Linked DNA regions of Homo sapiens: all the other regions are linked to region 1. The links are contacts of gene promoters, found by promoter capture Hi-C in blood cells and fetal thymus (Javierre and others, 2016). All regions are on one chromosome and are shown on one strand. The core of a region is centred on a gene start or on the middle of the fragment in contact, and the rest is flanking DNA. Distances in the headings are between cores, read along the strand shown. Region 1 holds the start of GJA5 (gap junction protein alpha 5). Region 2 has its middle 62 kb from the start of CHD1L. Region 3 has its middle 92 kb from the start of CHD1L. Region 4 overlaps LINC00624 (long intergenic non-protein coding RNA 624). Region 5 overlaps LINC00624 (long intergenic non-protein coding RNA 624). Region 6 overlaps LINC00624 (long intergenic non-protein coding RNA 624).

Region 1 (2,796 bases), core at 211-2,710:
GGAATATGAAGAGGACAGTGAGCCAGACCTTGCCTACCACGGTCGAGTGCTTGTGTACTTCCTCCAGGAAATTTCCCAGGAAGCTCCAATCGCCCATCTTGGCACAGCCAGGGAACAGATGCCAAAACTTCTGCAAATGGGAGAGAGAGAAAGAGAGAAAAGAAGAAGGATGTTCTGTGAAGGTCTGGAATGTCTATCATGTTCTGGGATTCCACTGATCCATCCATCCAATGGGTTCTTTAAGAAAATGCAACTTAGAAGTCAAAGCAACCAACGAAAAGCTCGCTCTCCTTTCCCAGCAAAAATAAAAAGAAAGAGAAGATTCAAAGTAGCCATATTAGCAAAATTAGAGCATGGCTCCCACACTTTAACGGATCTAGAAATCGTGGTGTGTGTTACAATATGGATTCTGCTCTTGCCCCAGTAATTCTACTTCAGGAGGTCTGGGATGGCCCCCAGGAATCTGGATTTACAACAAGCAGCCCAAGTAATTCTGATGCAGGCGGTGAGGGACCGCACCTGGAGAAACACGAGTATTAAAAAGAACACAAGACTGGGGTCTGCAAATGTGACTCTGGGCATTTACCTCACTGAGTCTGTTTCTTCATTTATCGAATGGGGATGGGAATAGCTACACCAGAGAATTCTGAGGATTAAATGATATGAGGTGTGTGATATTCTGAAAATCATTCCACAACTGTTCCAAATGTTTAAATGGCTGTTGGATGGAAAAGGAATTTTTTTATGGCTCCAGAGGGCAGAACTAGGTGGAGGAGGAAAGAGTGAGGATGGGATTGGCAAATTTGGCCCCTCAGGAAGCACTCTGCAAAAATCAGAACCATCCAGCATGGACCAGCTGTGTTGGGAGGTGGCAAACAAAAAGTGTGCTTTGGTCACACCAGCTAACAGTATCACAGATGAGTGCTCACTTCCCCTGGCTGGTAAGGCAATGTTGATCTCCCATGCCTCGGTGCAACACAGCCATTCCAGCCACACAGCTCAGCTCGCCCTGCTGCTAAGTTTCTGTGTCTCATTTAAATAAGGTTCCCACACACAGATCTGCCCACCCTTATGTCCAGAATAAATGTCCCAAAACTTTATGTCCCTTACAAAATCCTCCCTCATCTGGCCTTTGTCTGCTTTTCCAGCCTGTTCCTGCCTGTCCACATGAGTTCCTTTTGTCCAGCCATGCCAAGTCTTCCCAAATGCCCTCCTTCTGTACCCCTACATGTCCCCTCACCCCTAGCTGAATCCCATTTACCTTTCAAAACTTAACCCAGTCATTGCCTCCTCCAGCCCTCCCTCCTCCCTCAAGCTGAGCCTCTTCAGCTCCTGTGATGGCCCCCGGGACACTTACTCGTCTCCCAGTGCTTGCTGCCTTGTGTTGTAATCCTCTGCCTGTCTGTGTTCTCCCAGGAGGGACTGTTTGAAAATGGAGACTGTCTTTTCTTCTGTATCACCAGAGCCTGGCCCAGAGTAGGTGTTTAATATATCTTAGTTGAGTGAATGAAGGAGGGGCTGACAGGCACTGTTGTTTCCTACCCAATAGAAAACCAATTCCCTGTTTCTTGCCTGCCTCCCATTGGCAGGGTGAAAAAGCCAGGTATCACTTTCTTAATCTCCTCTGCAGTTAGTTCTGGTAGGTGAGGTATGGGGAGAATCTAAAGTAGAGGGAATGCTCCAGAAAAGGTTTTTCTACCCCCCAGTAAATGGAGAGAGCCTCACTCACAGTGCTCCCATCCCCCTGTGAACAAGAGGGAACCTCACTCACAGTGCTCCCATCCCCTGGTGAACAGGAGGGAGACTACTCACAGTGCTCCCATCCCCCGGTGAATAGGAGTGAGCCTCACTTAGCCCCACCGCTTCCTGCCTGTGGACAGAGTTGTATGAACCAAGATGTCTAAAGCTGTCCAGAGAATCTCAGAAATGTCAACCAGTGCCCTGAGGCCTCTGAAGCAACTCTTGAGGCTCCCTACCTCCAGAATTCTTACTTAGTGAATAACGAATGTTCTTACAGTTTAAGCCTCTAACCATTCCTAACCAACAGGATGACAAACGTCTCGGAGGGAATGGAGCATAAATATTCCTTTCTTAGAATCATAAACCTCAGATTTGGGTGGGTCCTTAGAGGTTTGTCAAATTCAAACTTTGACCGTCATATCTTTGCTGCCAACGTGCTCCTGGTTTCTGTCTGAACATTCTTCATGCTTATGGGGAAAGATGGGGTCAGGGTGGTGCATTTCATAGTCCAGGCTTCCTCAGCTCTTGAGTTGATTGTTGCCTTGACAGGGACCAACCTCCTGGCCCTGTATTCTCTCAGACCCCAGGTCCCCAAACTTGAGAGTATACAGTGTCCCTGGGAATGAGGGAGTTCCTGAGTGAGCGGAAAGCATCTTATCTCTGCTCCTCTCTATATCAAAGACCCATGCAGGTCTTGAGGCCTTTCCTGTCATTTGTGATCAGACATCTGCCCCATTTCCTTAGGTGGCGAAGCGCCCCCTCTTTCAGCCTCCAAATGTGGAAAATTGTGGAGCATGTGCTCAAAAGGAAAATGGCTGATTAGATAAGAGTTTGAATTGTCTGTCCTCTCTTCTGGGCACATGTACAGTGTTCAGCACCTTCAGGGTCAGCCACACACGTGCAGTGACTGAACTATGGTAAATGTCTGAGAAAAAGAGGGAGGGAGAGAAGGGGAGGAATAAAAAGAAGAGAAGAAAAGGGAAGGACAAGGGAGAGTTGGAAATGGAGAAAAAGACCATGTAGGGTTAAGAAAAGACAGATGCAGGAGTTAGCTTA
Region 2 (2,796 bases), core at 95-2,594, 460 kb before region 1:
TAAAATTTGTTTCAAAGTAATTTTCCAGCAATCCTGAGCAAAAAGAACAAAACTGGAGACATCACATAACCTGACTTCAAAATATGTTACAAAGCTATAGTAACCAAAACATCATGGTATTAGTATAAAAATAAACACATAGACCAATGGAACAGAATAGAGGATCCAGAAATAAAGCCATGTATTTGCAGCCAGCTGATCTTCAACAAAGCCAACAAGATCTTACACTGGGGAAAAAAGACTATCTTCAACAAATAGTGCTGGGAAAATTGGATGGCCACATGCAGAAGAATGAAACTGGACCCCTTACCTCTCACCATACACCAAGTAAATTCAAAGTGCATTAAAGACTTTAAATATAAGACCCAAAACTATAAAAATACTAGAAGCAAATCTAGGGAAAACTCTCTTGGATATTGTTCTAGGCAAAGAATGTATGACTTAAGACCTCAAAAGCACAGGGAACAAAACCAAAAACAGAAAAATGGGACTTAATTAAACTAAAAAGCTTCTCTACAGCAGAATAAATGAGTGAAGAGACAACCTATTAAATGGGAGAAAATATTTGCAAGCCATTCATTTGACAGGTGACTAATATCCAGAATACACAAGGAACTCAAACAACTCAACAGTTAACAACAAAAGAATAAAAAAGTGGACAAAGGACATAATAGACAACTCTCAAAAGAAGACATACAAATGGCCAAGAGGTAAAAGAAAAATGCTTAACACCACTAATCATCAGGTAAATGCAAATCAAAACCACAATGAGATAATATCTTACCCTAGTCAGAATGGCTACCATTAAAAAGACAAAAAAAAATGCTGGCAAGAATGCAGAGAAAAGGGAACTCTTATTCACTGTGGGTGGGAATGTAAACTAGTACAACCACTATGGAAAACAGCATGGAGATTTCTCAAAAAACTCAAATAGAATTACCATTTAATCTAGCAGTCCCACCACTAGGTATCTACTAAAGGAAAATGAAGCAATATATCAAAGGAAAACCTGCATTCACTTGTTTATTACAGCAGTATTCATAGTAAGGCTTGTGCCTCTCTGGGATGAAGCTTTGAGAGAAAGAAACAGGTAGCAATATTTGCTGTTCTGCAGGCTCTGCAGGCTCTGCAGACCCAGGCAAACAGGGTCTGGAGTGGACCTCCAGCAAACTCCAGCAGACCTGCAGAAGAGGGGCCTGACTGTTAGAAGGAAAACTAATAGAAAGCAATAATATCAACATCAACAAAAAGGATGTCCATGCAAAAACCCCATCCAAAGGTCCTCAGCATCAAACATCAAAGGTACATAAATCCATGAAGATAAGGAAAAACCAGTGCAGAAATGCTGAAAATTCCAAAAACCACAATGCCTCTTCTCTTTGAAAGGATCACAACTCCTCACCAGCAAGGGACCAAAACTGGATGGAGAATGAGTTTGATGAATTGACAGAAGTAGGCTTCAGAAGGTGGGTAATAACACTCCTCTGAGCTAAAGGAGCATGTTCTAACCCAATGCAAGGAAGCTAAGAAACCTTGATAAAAGGTTATAGGAAATGCTAACGAGAATAACCGGTTTAGAAAAGAACATGAATGACCCAATGAAACTGAAAAACACAGCATGAGAATTTCATGAAGCATACACAAGTATCAGTAGCCAAATTGGTCAAGCGGAAGAAAGGATATCAGAGATTGAAGATCAACTTAGTGAAATAAAGCGTGAAAACAAGATTAGAGAAAAAATGAAAAGGAATGAACAAAGCCTCCCAAGACATATGAGACTATGTGAAAAGACCAAACCTACGATTGATTGGTGTACCTGAAAGTGATGGAGAATGGAACCAAGTTGGAAAACACACTTCAGGATATTATCCAGGAGAACTTCCCCAAATTAGTGAGACAGGGCAACATTCAAATTCAGGAAATACAGACAACACCACTAAGATACTCCTTGAGAAGAGCAACCCCAAGACACATAATTGTGAGATTCACCAAGACTGAAATGAAGGAAATAATGTTAAGGGCAGCCAGAGAGAAAGGTCAGGTTACCCATAAAGGGAAGCCCATCAGACTTAACAGTGGATCTCTCTGCGGAAACGCCACAAGCCAGAAGAGAGTGGGGGCCAATATTCAACATTCTTAAAGAAAATAACTTTCAACCCAGAATTTTATATCGAGACAAACTAAGCTTGATCAGTGAAGGAGAAATAAAATCCTTTCCAGACAAGCAAATGCTGAGGGATTTTGTCACCACCAGTCCTGCCTTACAGGAATTCCTGAAGGAAGCACTAAATATGGAAAGGAAAAAATCAGTACCAGCTACTGCAAAAACATGCCAAAATATAAAGACCAATAACACTATGAAGAAACTGCATCAACTAATGTGCAAAATAACCAGCTAACATCATGACAACAGGATCAGATTCACACATAACAATATTAACAATAAACGTAAATGGGCTAAATGCCCCAATTGAAAGACGCAGACTGGCAAATTGGATAGAGTCAAGACCCATCGGTGTGCTGTATTCAGGAGACCCATTTCATATGCAAAGACACACATGGGCTCAAAATAAAGGGATGAAGGAATATTTACCAAGCAAATGGAAAGCAAAAGAAGCAGGGTTTGCAATCCTAGTCTCTGATAAAACAGACTTTAAGTCCAGGACCAGATGGATTCACAGCCGAATTCTACCAGAGGTACAAGAAGGAGCTGGTACCATTCCTTCTGAAACTATTCCAATCAATAGAAAAAGAGGGAATCCTCCCTAACTCATTTTATGAGGCCAGCATCATCCT
Region 3 (2,796 bases), core at 168-2,667, 430 kb before region 1:
GTACAATGAATAGAAAACGGTTACAAACAGTAAATATTGATTCGACAATATCAATAATCACTTTAAGTGAGAATGGTCTAAATGTACCAATTAAAAGATTGTCAGAGTGGCTAAAAAACAAGATTCGACTATTGTATTTGAATACAGATGTGATTCCCAGTCTATTTTCAGGCAAGTTCTCACCACTGTTTGTTATTTGGTTTCCTGTCATTAAAAAAAGTTGACTAACTTCCCTACTAACTGGCATATTCAGACAGTAAAGAGCTTAAAGGAGAGGGGCTTTGAGCAGAATGGTGGCATCCTGATATAAGAGAGTAAGAGCAGGGAGCTAGGAGATGCATGAAACTGCAGCAAAGTAACCTCAGCCTCTGAATTCAAGTGCCCTTCAAGGAACTGAACTCATTTAACCATACTATCATATTTGGGAAGCAGGGATTATTACTTCCATTTCACATTTTGTGAAAACTGTTAAGTATCTTCTGTGTACTCCAGACAAGACATCCAGGCTCCAGGCCTCTCTTACATGGTCCAGCACTTATTTCATGGAATCCTCTCTACTTTGCCCTTCTGTATTCGCTAGTGCCCACTCCCTTGTCCTCTGCCAATTCCATCGTGGTTCTATAGGAAAATGGGATGTCTGTCATTCTCTGCAGCTGTGAACTTTGCATATTTCTTTGGCTTTAAAATATCTGGCCTGTAGTGATAAGGATTCAGCAAGCCACTGAAAAGCAATGGCACTTAAGAAAATCTCCGGCAACTCTGTCTTTTCCTCTTGCTTTCTCGGTCCTGCTCAAAGTTGTCTTGTTGGCAGGCAGCCACCTGTGAAATGTGCACATTTCAAAGCAAATGGCTCCAGGAGCTCATAATTGCTGCCAAACGTGTGTGGATTTTAATAGCCCATTTTCATTAGCCTTGTGTGAAATCACCTGTCTCTGTGTTGTTACCCAACTTAATTGTCAATTATGGTGATTAAGCTTGGCTTTCACTACCATCACTGGTAATCATTAGTATTATCTCTGAGGCTGAACGAAGGGAAAAAAATCATGCCAGAAAAAAATATCATTTTGTAGGTGAAGGTGAATATTTTGGTGTCAATGCATGAGGAGAATGGCATTTTTTTTTAATTTGGGCTGAACCAAACTTGAGTCTACCTGTTATTTCCAACCTGCCTTTTAGATGTGTTAGGACAAACGCTTCTCTTTTGTCACTTGGTTTTCTCTCACCAAAGAAGTGTTCCTGATGCCTATCCCTTTGCAATTCTCCTGAGATGAGCATAGGTAATTAAGACAGTAAGTTAGATAATTAATGCCTTTAAAATGCTTTCAGCAATGTCGGTGATTCCAAGTGTAATAGGTGGAGCCCTAGAAAAACTTGGGAGATAGCACAGAAAGTGCTGCCAATGTACAACTTGAGATTTTGATTGATGTTCTTTCTGCTTTCATCAGTCTCGTTAAATTTTAAGCACCTTACCTTGCCTTCTTGACTACAGGGTCATCTAATTTTGCATCTTGACTAATATTTTACTTTTTCGTGGAATTTGCAATGAACAATAATGAAAATCAACGACATTATCATTATCATCCTTTTCCTCCTTCTTTACAAATTTTAATTTAGTAAAATCCCAAACTCATTTCTGTTATGCTTTTATGGGATTTCAGGACATGGCAAAATAATGAAAGACATTTTTGAAAATGGTATCATTAGACATCATCTCTAGTATTTGAGTGCCATGTGTGTCCCCAAGGTTTATGACACTCTTAAGACTTGACAGTTTCCTTTATCTTTCCAAAACCCTTGGAGGAAACTAATAAGAGTTTTTTTTTAATTCTAACTTAATGGGAAGAAAGAAATTAAGTCATGCAAGCTTAAGGGATATGAAGTGTGAATCAGTGACTGTTGCCTTCTGGGGTAGAGGAGGAATGAGGCTCTATTCCAGATAGTCCTTAATGAAAACACCTAAAATCCATAACCTAGCAAAGATCCTCTGGCAAGTCTGGACTGAGGCTGGCAAGAGTTACAAATGAATTAGCTGGACAGTTTCCCTCTCTTCCCACTTTCCCATTCCCATTTAGTGTTCTTTACAGTGTTTTGTTTTTAAAGGCCTGATTATAACAAATGCTGTCTTCATCACTTGGTTTCCAAAACCCCTGTACTCAAGATTACAGAGTGTCCTCAGAAGCTTCATGGTTGCTCACCCGTGAAGAGTGGAGGACTGGAATCCAAACTCTTATGGTGCTTTTGTAATTTCTGTAAATATATATTTTTCTTGTAATTAAAAAATGTATTTTTTTAATTTCCCAAAAAGAATATAATTTATCATTTAGGAATAGAGGAGGAAGACAAATTACAGCTGAAACATTTTCTCTTTTATGAAGCTTTAACCAACTCTTCCTCTTCCAAGTCCCTAGGACAAAATAAATTGCCCTTTTTCCTGTGTTTCCCCTTTTTCCTGTGTTCTTTATTCTTGTGTGGATTTTAGAGTGACCACATTTTATTATAGTTATTTGTTGTATAATCCCACATTTTTATCCTTAAATTTTGGTCAAGAGAGGTCTTCTTTTTCAGCTGCTGTGTAATTAAGTTTAAGGGTGACGAAGGAAAGAGAAAATTCAAACAGCCAAGAACTGTGAAGGATGAGCCTTTTAAAGGAGAGCTTACTGCCTTATGGTGAACTGATTCAAATGCTTTGGTAACGTGGACATGCTGTTAAGGGCTGAGTGGTTTCTTTATCAAACAGCATTCTGCAAATTCATGGAGTTCCCACATAGACTTGCAAATGCTTGTACTTTGTGATAG
Region 4 (2,796 bases), core at 94-2,593, 350 kb before region 1:
TGGGCTGAATTGTGTTCCCCTCAAAATGGTGAAGTCCTCACCCCCACTGTCTTAGAACATGGCTGTTTTTGGAAACAGGGTTTTAAAAAAGGTAATTAAGTTAAAATGAAGTCATTAGAGTGAATTCTAATCCAATGTGACTGGTAATCTTACAGGAAAATGAAATTTGTACACAGATATGCACACAGGGAGGACAATGTGAAGACGGACAGAATGGCCATGTACAAGTCAAGGAGAAATATTATAAAAATATTGACAGTGCTCTGAGGATGGGGGTTTTCACAAAGCTCAAAACAGGTCAAACTTCTTCACTGGCTGCCAGCTCTTCACAGCTACCACCCTGGTACTAGGGGTTGGGTACGTGGGAATAGTTCCAAGTTAAAGCACCATAGACCCCACTGTTCTTATGAAGCTCGGCAGTTATATTTGAGTGAATGCTTTTCAGTGTGTTCTGTGCCTTTGGTTAATTTTCATAGTTTTAAAATGGTTGGTTTCTATTGGTGTTTTGCCAGTATTTTTGTTGCTTTTGTGGGAAGAGGATTCACTGAGGTCCTCACCCTGACATTCTGAAAGTGTTGTCCCTAACCTTGTTTTTGAAATATATTTATGTTGGTTAGACTTTTAGGTTGACAAGTTTGTTTCCTTTCAAGCTGTTGCTCCTTAAAACATTGGAAGGAAACAAATAAACAATACAGTCTTTTGGCTTGCATTGCTTGGATGAGAAGTCAGCTGTCATTCTCATCTCTATTCTTCTGCATGTAATGTGCGTTTTTTCCTAGTTGCTTTTAAAATTTTCTATCACTAGTTTTGACCAATTTGATTATGATTTGCATGGTGTAGTTTTCTTTCTGTGCCTTGTTTGGGGTTTGTTAAGCTTCTTGAATTTGGGGGCTTAAAAATTTCATAAAATTGGAAATTTTGGCTACTGTTTTTCCACATTTTTTGTTCCCTTCTCTTTCTTGGGCTCCAATGCATATTAAGGCACTTGCTGTCCCCAAGCTCACTGATGTTCTGCTCATTTCTCTTCAGTCCCTTTTTTCTTTTATTTTTTTATTTTTTGAGACAGAATCTCACTCTGTTGTCCAGCCTGGGGTGCAATGGCGTGATCACAGCTCACTGCAGCCTTGACCTCCAGGGCTCAAGCTATCCTCCTACCTCAGCCACCCAAGTAGCTGGAACTACAGGCACAGGCACGTGGCTGGTTAATTTTCATATTTTTTTGTACAGATAAGAGTCTTTCCATGTTGCCCAGGATGGTCTCAAACTCCTAGGTTTGAGCAATCTTCCCACCTCAGCCTCTCAAAGAGCTGAGATTACAGGCATGAGCCAATGTGCCCAACCTCTTATTTCATTTTGGATATTTTCTATTAGTATGACTTCACATTCACTAACCTTTTTCTATATCTAATTTGCTGTTAATCTCATCCTGTGTATACTGTATCTCAAACATTATATTTTTACTTTAGAATTTCAATATTTTAATATCTTCAATGTCTCTCCTTGTCATATACATAATTTCCTCTACTTTCTTGAACATATAAATGTATTTATAGTAGCTATTTTAACATCATTGCTTTATAAGTCTATAATCTGTGTCATTACTGAGTCTTTTAAATTATATTTTCTTTTTAATATAGGTTGTATTCCCTTCCTGCTTCTTTGTATGCCTGAAAATTTTGGATTGACGCCAGACACTGTGAATTTTACATAGCTAAATGAAGAAGTTTTAGTATTCCTTTAAGGATTTTTGGACTTTGTTCTTGGACACAGTTAAATTACTCAGAAATAATTTGATCCTTTTAAGACTAGCTTTTAAGCTTTGTTAGGTGAGCTTAGAATAGCCTTTTGCCTAGTGTCAATTTTGCCTCTCTACTAAGGCATCTAATGAGTCTACTTTGTATGTGTTAGGATTTCTTTGCGCACTGATTGGTGCAAAGACTAACTATTCCCAGCCCTGCGTGAGCTCTCCAGATTATTCCAACTGATCCTCTCTAATCTTTTCCTTGGCTCTCATGTGCTGATTAGCATTCTGCTGAAGAGGGAATTCTGTGGATCTCTGAGACTCTCTTTTTATGTGCATCTCCTCTCCAGGGCTCTGCCACGCAAATTCTAGGTACCTTGATCTCCCCCAAACTCTGAATTTTCTCTTATTAATAAAGGGAGACTACTGGGCTCCACTTATGTACCCCCTCCTTGTGCTGTGGCCTGGACACCCTCTCCATGCAGTGAGCTGGTGCATTCATAGGGTTTACCTCATTTGTTTCCCTTGTCTCAGTACTCTCTGTCCCATTCCACTCATTGTTTAATATCTGAAAACACATTTTGTTTTATCTTTTCCCCCAAGTTTTTAGTTATTAAGACAGAAAAGCAAATCTGGTTACTTTTATTCCATTATGGAAGAAGTTCCAAAACCTGATTATTTATTTATTTATTTATTTATTTATTTATTTATTTATTTTTTTGAGAAGGTATCTCATTCTGTCACCCAGGCAGGAATGCAGTGACATGATCTTGGCTCACTGCCACCTCCGCTTCCTGGGTTCAAACAATTCTCTTGCCTCAGCCCCCCAAGTAGCTGGGATTACAGCCACATGCCACCATGCCCAGCTAATCTTTATATTTTTAGTAGAAACGGGGTTTCACCATGTTGGCTAGCCTGGCCTTGAACTCCCGGCCCCAAGTGATCTGCCTGCCTTGGCCTCCCAAAGTGCTGGAATTACAGGTGGGAGCCACTGCACCCGGCAAAAACCTAATTCTTAAAATGGACAGTTGAACGCTTGGATTGGCATTCAAGGG
Region 5 (2,796 bases), core at 86-2,585, 310 kb before region 1:
TAAGCCCACATCCATGCATACCCCTTCACTCACTAACGAGGAGGAGGACAAGGCTGTCTTTCAGGCTTTAGCCACCACAACTCCTGACAACAAATCCAGTACCAAATTCCATTCAGAGTGTCTCCAAAGAGCTAAAAAGCTGACCTCTTCATTGCATGCTGGGAAAAGATGACTGCCATGACCTTAATGATTCCAAGAGAGAACTAATTGCTCTTCATTTCTACACTTTCTAATCAAGCTGCTGCCCTTGAGTTGTGTTTGTACTTGGAGGAGTCCCAGAACATCTACTTAGAGAGAGATTAGATGGATAGTCCCCAAAGGACAGTCCACAGGCACTTATACATGGCCATCCTAGAAGAAGGAATCATAGAGTGATCAAAGAGGATTTTTGGTTCCTGTGTTAGGCAATGACTACGCTGCAGGCAGCTCCTGGAGTGGCAGGTCCCCCTCATGATGCATGGAGTTCAATAGCCAGTTGTACCAAAGAGTATTCTTTCCATAGTAGTGTGGGGAGTACAAGCCCCACCCCCAAAGCCAGAAATCCAAGCCTTTCAGTGAGACTCAGTGGTACGTAGGTTATTTATCATCACAATTGAGAAAAACTGCCCAATGTCAGGATATACCTACCGCTTAATAACATACTGTATATTGTGCATATTTTTATTACCATTTTGGTAACATTTATGTAATGACGTATTTTTAACATCTTTTCTGTGTGTATAAATTTCAACAGTACAACTTATAGAATTAGAGTAGAACTTACTTTAGAAATTATCCACTCCAGAACCTAAGGAATGCCTGAGTTATTTAAGTGAGATAATATAAGTGAAAAAATTTTTATGACATAATACAAAATGCAAAGTATTAGTATTCTATTTTTGACAAGCAGGACAGAAAGGAATAATTTTTTGGGAGAAAGCATAGGGATATATTTCCACTATTACACATTACAGTACAACAATAGGTGCAGACAAAATAATTGTTTAAAGAAATTTGATTAAATTCATACAAAACATATATTTGGAAACATTTATTCGCTAACCAGGGGTTCTCATCTTTATGTGGCAACACATTGATGTTTGGGAGAGGTGTGTTGCAAGCAATTTATTGACTATAATAAAGGCTTGAAGCTTGCGAATGATTTACTTTACCTGTGATTCTTTTTATTATAAATATACATTTAAAGTTATTTGTAAATAATTTCATCCCCAATCATTTGCCTTAGAGATTACTGATTGGGAAAGAAAGAAGCAGGATTGCTGCTCTCTGGCTGGGAACTGAGCAGAACGTGCCACATGGTCTCCATTGGGACCATTGCTCTTACAGGGCCATGGCGCCACATTTATGCCCCAACAGGCTGTTCTTTTCCTCAGGTGTCTAAGATGTTTGCACCAGAACGGTTGAACAGAAATGTCCTCCAGAGGTCAGCTGAGATGTCCCTTCTTAACCTTTCTCTGTAGGTCTGACTAAACTGCTGGATTTTATATCTTTCCTGTTCCCCTGACTTCCACCTGAGTTGTTCGTGAACAGTCTTTGAGCCCCAAGCTTTGGGTCCCCGTTCAGCTTGGATGCCACTGGGAGTATCAGGCTCTGTGATACCAGGGTCAAGGACCTAAGGCACCTCATAGGTAGGGCATTGCAGGCCAGTCTTTCTCCACTCTGACATATGTGTTCATGAGAGGGGGCTCAGAATTTGCCAGTGGCTCTATGCTACCTCTGGCATAGGCTTGGGAGGAGTGCAATTTTCTGTGAGATCTCCATAGAGTTACCCTCTTGTCAAAGTTAACACAGGTTAAAAAATGCAAATCTATGTCATGTTTCAGGCAGACACAGATATTGAGAAATATGTGCCCAATAAATACTATATGGTCTCATCATGAGACTGATAGGGTAAATATAATTGGTAGAAAAATAAGTCAATAATTTCATCCTTTTTTAATTCCAAGAAATTCATTTGATCAGTGTTAGCATTAACTTTAGTTTTGACTTGTTTTGTTTCGTTGTTGCTGCTGATTGAACCAATTCTCAGGAGATTGAAAAGAGGTAGGTATTTTTCTTATTTGGACCTTTCTCTCTCTCTTTATTTTATGGAACTATGGAATGCAGAACAGGGAATTGGAAAGAGTATGGCCTTTAGAGTCAGATGGACATGGGTTAAATCCCAGTCCCTAATATAGTAGCCAGGTAACTTGAAGCATCAGTTTCCCTACCATCAGAGTGAACAGGCAACCTACAGAAGGGGAGAAAATTTTTGCAATCTACCCATCTGACAAAGGGCTAATATCCAGAATCTACAAGGAACTGAAACAAATTTACAAGAAAAAAATCAAACAACCCCATCAAAAACTGGGTGAAGAATATGAACAGACACTTCTCAAAAGAAGACATTTACGCAGCCAACAGACACATGAAAAAATGCTCATCATCACTGGCCGTCAGAGAAATGCAAATCAAAACCACAGTGAGATACCATCTCACACCAGTTAGAATGGCCATCATTAAAAAGTCAGGAAACAACAGGTGCTGGAGAGGATGTGGAGAAATAGGAACACTTTTACACTGTTGGTGGGACTGTAAACTAGTTCAACCATTGTGAAAGACAGTGTGGTGATTCCTCAAGGATCTAGAACTAAAAATAACATTTGACCCAGCCATCCATTACTGAGTATATACCCAAAGGATTATAAATCTTGCTGCTATAAAGACACAGGCACACGTATGTTTACTGTGGCACTATTCACAATAGCAAAGACTTGGAACCAACCCAAATGTCCATCAATGATAGACTGATTAAGA
Region 6 (2,796 bases), core at 199-2,698, 290 kb before region 1:
TTTATTGCACAGTGGTCCAAGAGTGTGTTTGGTATGATTTCAGTTCTTTTGCATTTGCTGAGGATTGTTCTATGTCCAAGTAAGTGGTCAATTTTAGAGTATGTGCCATGTGGCAATGAGAAGAATGTATATTCTCTTGTTTTGGGGTGGAGAGTTGTATAGAGGTCAGATCCATCTGGTCCAATGTTGAGTTCAGGTCTTGAATGTGTTTGTTAATTTTCTGCCTATTACAGTCAATACACTCAATGATCTGTCTAATACTGTCAGTGGAGTGTTGAAGTCTCCCACTGATACTGTGTTGAAGTCTATGTCTCTTCGTAGGTCTCTAAGAACTTCCTTTATGAATCCAGGTGCTCCTGTGTTGGGTGCATATGTATTTAGAATAGTTAGATCTTCTCGTTGAATTGAACCCTTTACCATTATGTAATGTCCTTGTCTTTTTTTCATCTTTGTTGATTTGAAGTCTGTTTTGCCTGAAATTAGGATTACAACCTTTAATCAAATTACAACCTTAGTAATCAAATTACAACCTTACTAAGCAAATGATTTCCTCCATCCTTCAATTTTGAGCCTATGGGTGTCATTTCGTGTGAAATGTGTCTCTTGAAGACAGCATACCATTGGGTTTTGCTTTTTTATCCAGGTTGCCACTCTGTGCCTTTTAAGTGGGGGCGGTTAGCTCATTTACATTGAAGGTTATTACTGACAGATGTGAATCTGATCCTGTCATTGTGTTGTTAGCTGGTTATTGTGTTGACTTGTTTGTGTGGTTGCTTTACAGTGACGTTGGTCTATGTGTTTAAGACTGTTTTTGTATTAGTTGGTAGCAATCTTTCCTTCCTATGTTAAATGCTCCTTTCAAAATCTCTTGTAATGCAGGTCTGGTGGTAATGAACTTTTTCAACATATGCTTATCTGAAAAGGATATTTCTCCTTTGCTTAGGAAGCTTAGTTTGGCTAGACATGAAATTTTTGGTTGAAGATTTTTTTCTTTAAAAATGTTGAATATAGGCTCCCCAATCTTGTCTGGCTTACAGGGCTTTAGCTGAAAGATCTACTGTTAGCCTGATAGTGTTCTCTTTGTTGGTAACTTGCCCTTTCTCTCTAGCTGCCTTTAACATTCTTTCTGGCATTTTAATCTTGGAAAATCTGACAATTATGTGTCTTCGAGATAATCTTGTATAGAGTCTTGCAGAAATTCTCTGTATTTCCTGAATCTGACTATTGGCCTCTCTAGCAAGGTTGGGGAAGTTTTCGTGAATGATATCCTGAAATGTTTTCCAAGTTATTTGCTTTCTCCCTCTCCTTTTCAGGGATGCCAATGATTTGTGTAGATCTGGCCTCTTTACGTAATCCCATACTTCTTAGAGGGTTTGTTCTTTCATTTTTATTCCTTTTTCTTTATTTTTGTCTGTCTTACTTCAGAGAACTAGTCTTCAAATTCTGAGATTCTTTCTTCAGTTTGGTTTATTCTGCTGTTAATACTTGTGACTGCATTGTGAAATTATTGCATTGTGTTGATCAGCTCTGTCAGACCTGTTAGGTTCTTTTTTATACCACCTACTTCGTCCTTCAGCTCCTATATTGCTTTATTGTGATTCTTATTTTCCTTGGATTGGGTTTCGCTGTTCTCCTGAATCTCAATGATCTTCATTCCTATCCATATTCTAAATTTTATTTGTTATCCCAGCCAGTTCTTATTGGAGAACTGGTACAGTCATTTTGAGGCCATACAAAACTCTGGTCATTTGAGTTACCAGAGTTCTTGCATTCGTTCTTTCTCATTTCTGCATATGGGTGTTCCTTTAACTGTAGTATAGATTGATTACAGTCAATAGACTTCTGGATGTTTTCACCTGGCTGAGGCCTTGTGCAGGGTCTCTATCTGAAGCTGATTTCTTGTCTCTGGTTTCACAGGGGGGTATGTTAGTGAGGCATTTTTTTAAGTTGAAGCTTTGTGGTGTGATCCAGTAGGTGGCATTTAGGCTTACGGGTCAGTTGGTAGACTCACTCAGTTGTGTAGCTCCCCTATGGTTCCCCACAGTGGCAGCTATATTTCCTCTCAATCCTCTGGGAACGTGGCTTCCTCTCCCCCTTAAGTGCTGACTGTAGATCACGGCTTGTCACTCCTGGACTGCCCACTGTAGCTCTGGGATGATCTCAGCATTTATGATTCTTCCCCATCTCAGAGGCAGCAGAGGAAGGGACCTTAGTAGTGGTTTTGACCAAGGGTCTTTTGCTTGTCTCCTGAGGGCTCCACCCGAAAGATGGAAGATGGACTGACCTCCTCTTCTTAAACTGACTGCAGCCTGTTGGAGGTATGGATAAAGCACTTAAAGCCTTTGTTCCTTCATTAGTCTGAGGGCAGCAAGGGCAGTTCTACTGCAGAGGCAGTGGCAGGGAAGCTTTCAGTTGCCCCTGGAGGCTCTGTCCAGGGAGTTGCTGAGTTGCTACTGGCTCAATAGCTCTGGCAGTGGGTGGCTGGAAGCCCTGGAGAACCTGCCCAGTGAGGAGATGTGGGAATAGGCACCCATTTGTTCTGGCCAGTTTTCCATAGGGCTGCTGTGGTATGCTGGGGTCCCTCTGCAGTTCCTAGTTGCCTTGAATTTTCCAGTAAGTGGAGATATCATCAGTAAAGGCTGCAATACAGCAAAGACAGTAGCCTGCCCCTCCCTCTGGAAGCTCCATCCCAGGAAGGTATGGGCCTGTTGCCAGCCCAAAAGTGCCTGTAGGAGGTGGCTGGAGACCCTGGTTAGGAGGTCCCACCTACTGAGGAGGAAGAGGATCAGGAACCTA

Evidence for each region. Contacts are between HindIII fragments. The CHiCAGO score rates a contact against its expected background, and 5 or more counts as called.
Region 2: a contact is called between a fragment that was not itself captured here and the fragment with the promoter of GJA5 in region 1, in 5 of 17 cell types (erythroblasts, total B cells, activated CD4 T cells and 2 more). The highest score is 5.7, in erythroblasts.
Region 3: a fragment that was not itself captured here is called in contact with the fragment with the promoter of GJA5 in region 1 in 2 of 17 cell types (erythroblasts and fetal thymus); the score reaches 6.8 in erythroblasts.
Region 4: a fragment that was not itself captured here is called in contact with the fragment with the promoter of GJA5 in region 1 in 2 of 17 cell types (erythroblasts and fetal thymus); the score reaches 6.8 in erythroblasts.
Region 5: a fragment that was not itself captured here is called in contact with the fragment with the promoter of GJA5 in region 1 in 1 of 17 cell types (fetal thymus); the score reaches 5.3 in fetal thymus.
Region 6: a fragment that was not itself captured here is called in contact with the fragment with the promoter of GJA5 in region 1 in 10 of 17 cell types (fetal thymus, activated CD4 T cells, total CD4 T cells and 7 more); the score reaches 8.1 in fetal thymus.

Annotation. Positions count from the first base shown.
Region 1 is chr1:147,759,142-147,761,937 of GRCh38, forward strand. It overlaps GJA5 (gap junction protein alpha 5), which reads right to left and starts at 1,461. Exons shown (of 2, transcript NM_181703.4): 1 at 1,358-1,461; 2 at 1-130. The coding sequence starts at 97. The region is part of intron 1 of LOC102723321 (a long non-coding RNA gene); the gene reads left to right. The HindIII fragment of the contact is 9,872 bases long and covers 1-2,796 here.
Region 2 is chr1:147,303,540-147,306,335 of GRCh38, forward strand. No RefSeq gene overlaps it. Among named protein-coding and RNA genes, the nearest start is that of CHD1L, 62 kb to the left of the region's middle. The HindIII fragment of the contact is 1,677 bases long and covers 507-2,183 here.
Region 3 is chr1:147,333,775-147,336,570 of GRCh38, forward strand. No RefSeq gene overlaps it. Among named protein-coding and RNA genes, the nearest start is that of CHD1L, 92 kb to the left of the region's middle. RefSeq lists an enhancer at 2,429-2,796. The HindIII fragment of the contact is 890 bases long and covers 973-1,862 here.
Region 4 is chr1:147,411,447-147,414,242 of GRCh38, forward strand. All of the region lies in intron 3 of LINC00624 (long intergenic non-protein coding RNA 624), which reads right to left. Among named protein-coding and RNA genes, the nearest start is that of LINC00624, 110 kb to the right of the region's middle. The HindIII fragment of the contact is 943 bases long and covers 873-1,815 here.
Region 5 is chr1:147,447,264-147,450,059 of GRCh38, forward strand. The region is part of intron 3 of LINC00624 (long intergenic non-protein coding RNA 624); the gene reads right to left. Among named protein-coding and RNA genes, the nearest start is that of LINC00624, 69 kb to the right of the region's middle. The HindIII fragment of the contact is 415 bases long and covers 1,129-1,543 here.
Region 6 is chr1:147,466,108-147,468,903 of GRCh38, forward strand. All of the region lies in intron 3 of LINC00624 (long intergenic non-protein coding RNA 624), which reads right to left. Among named protein-coding and RNA genes, the nearest start is that of LINC00624, 50 kb to the right of the region's middle. The HindIII fragment of the contact is 1,006 bases long and covers 946-1,951 here.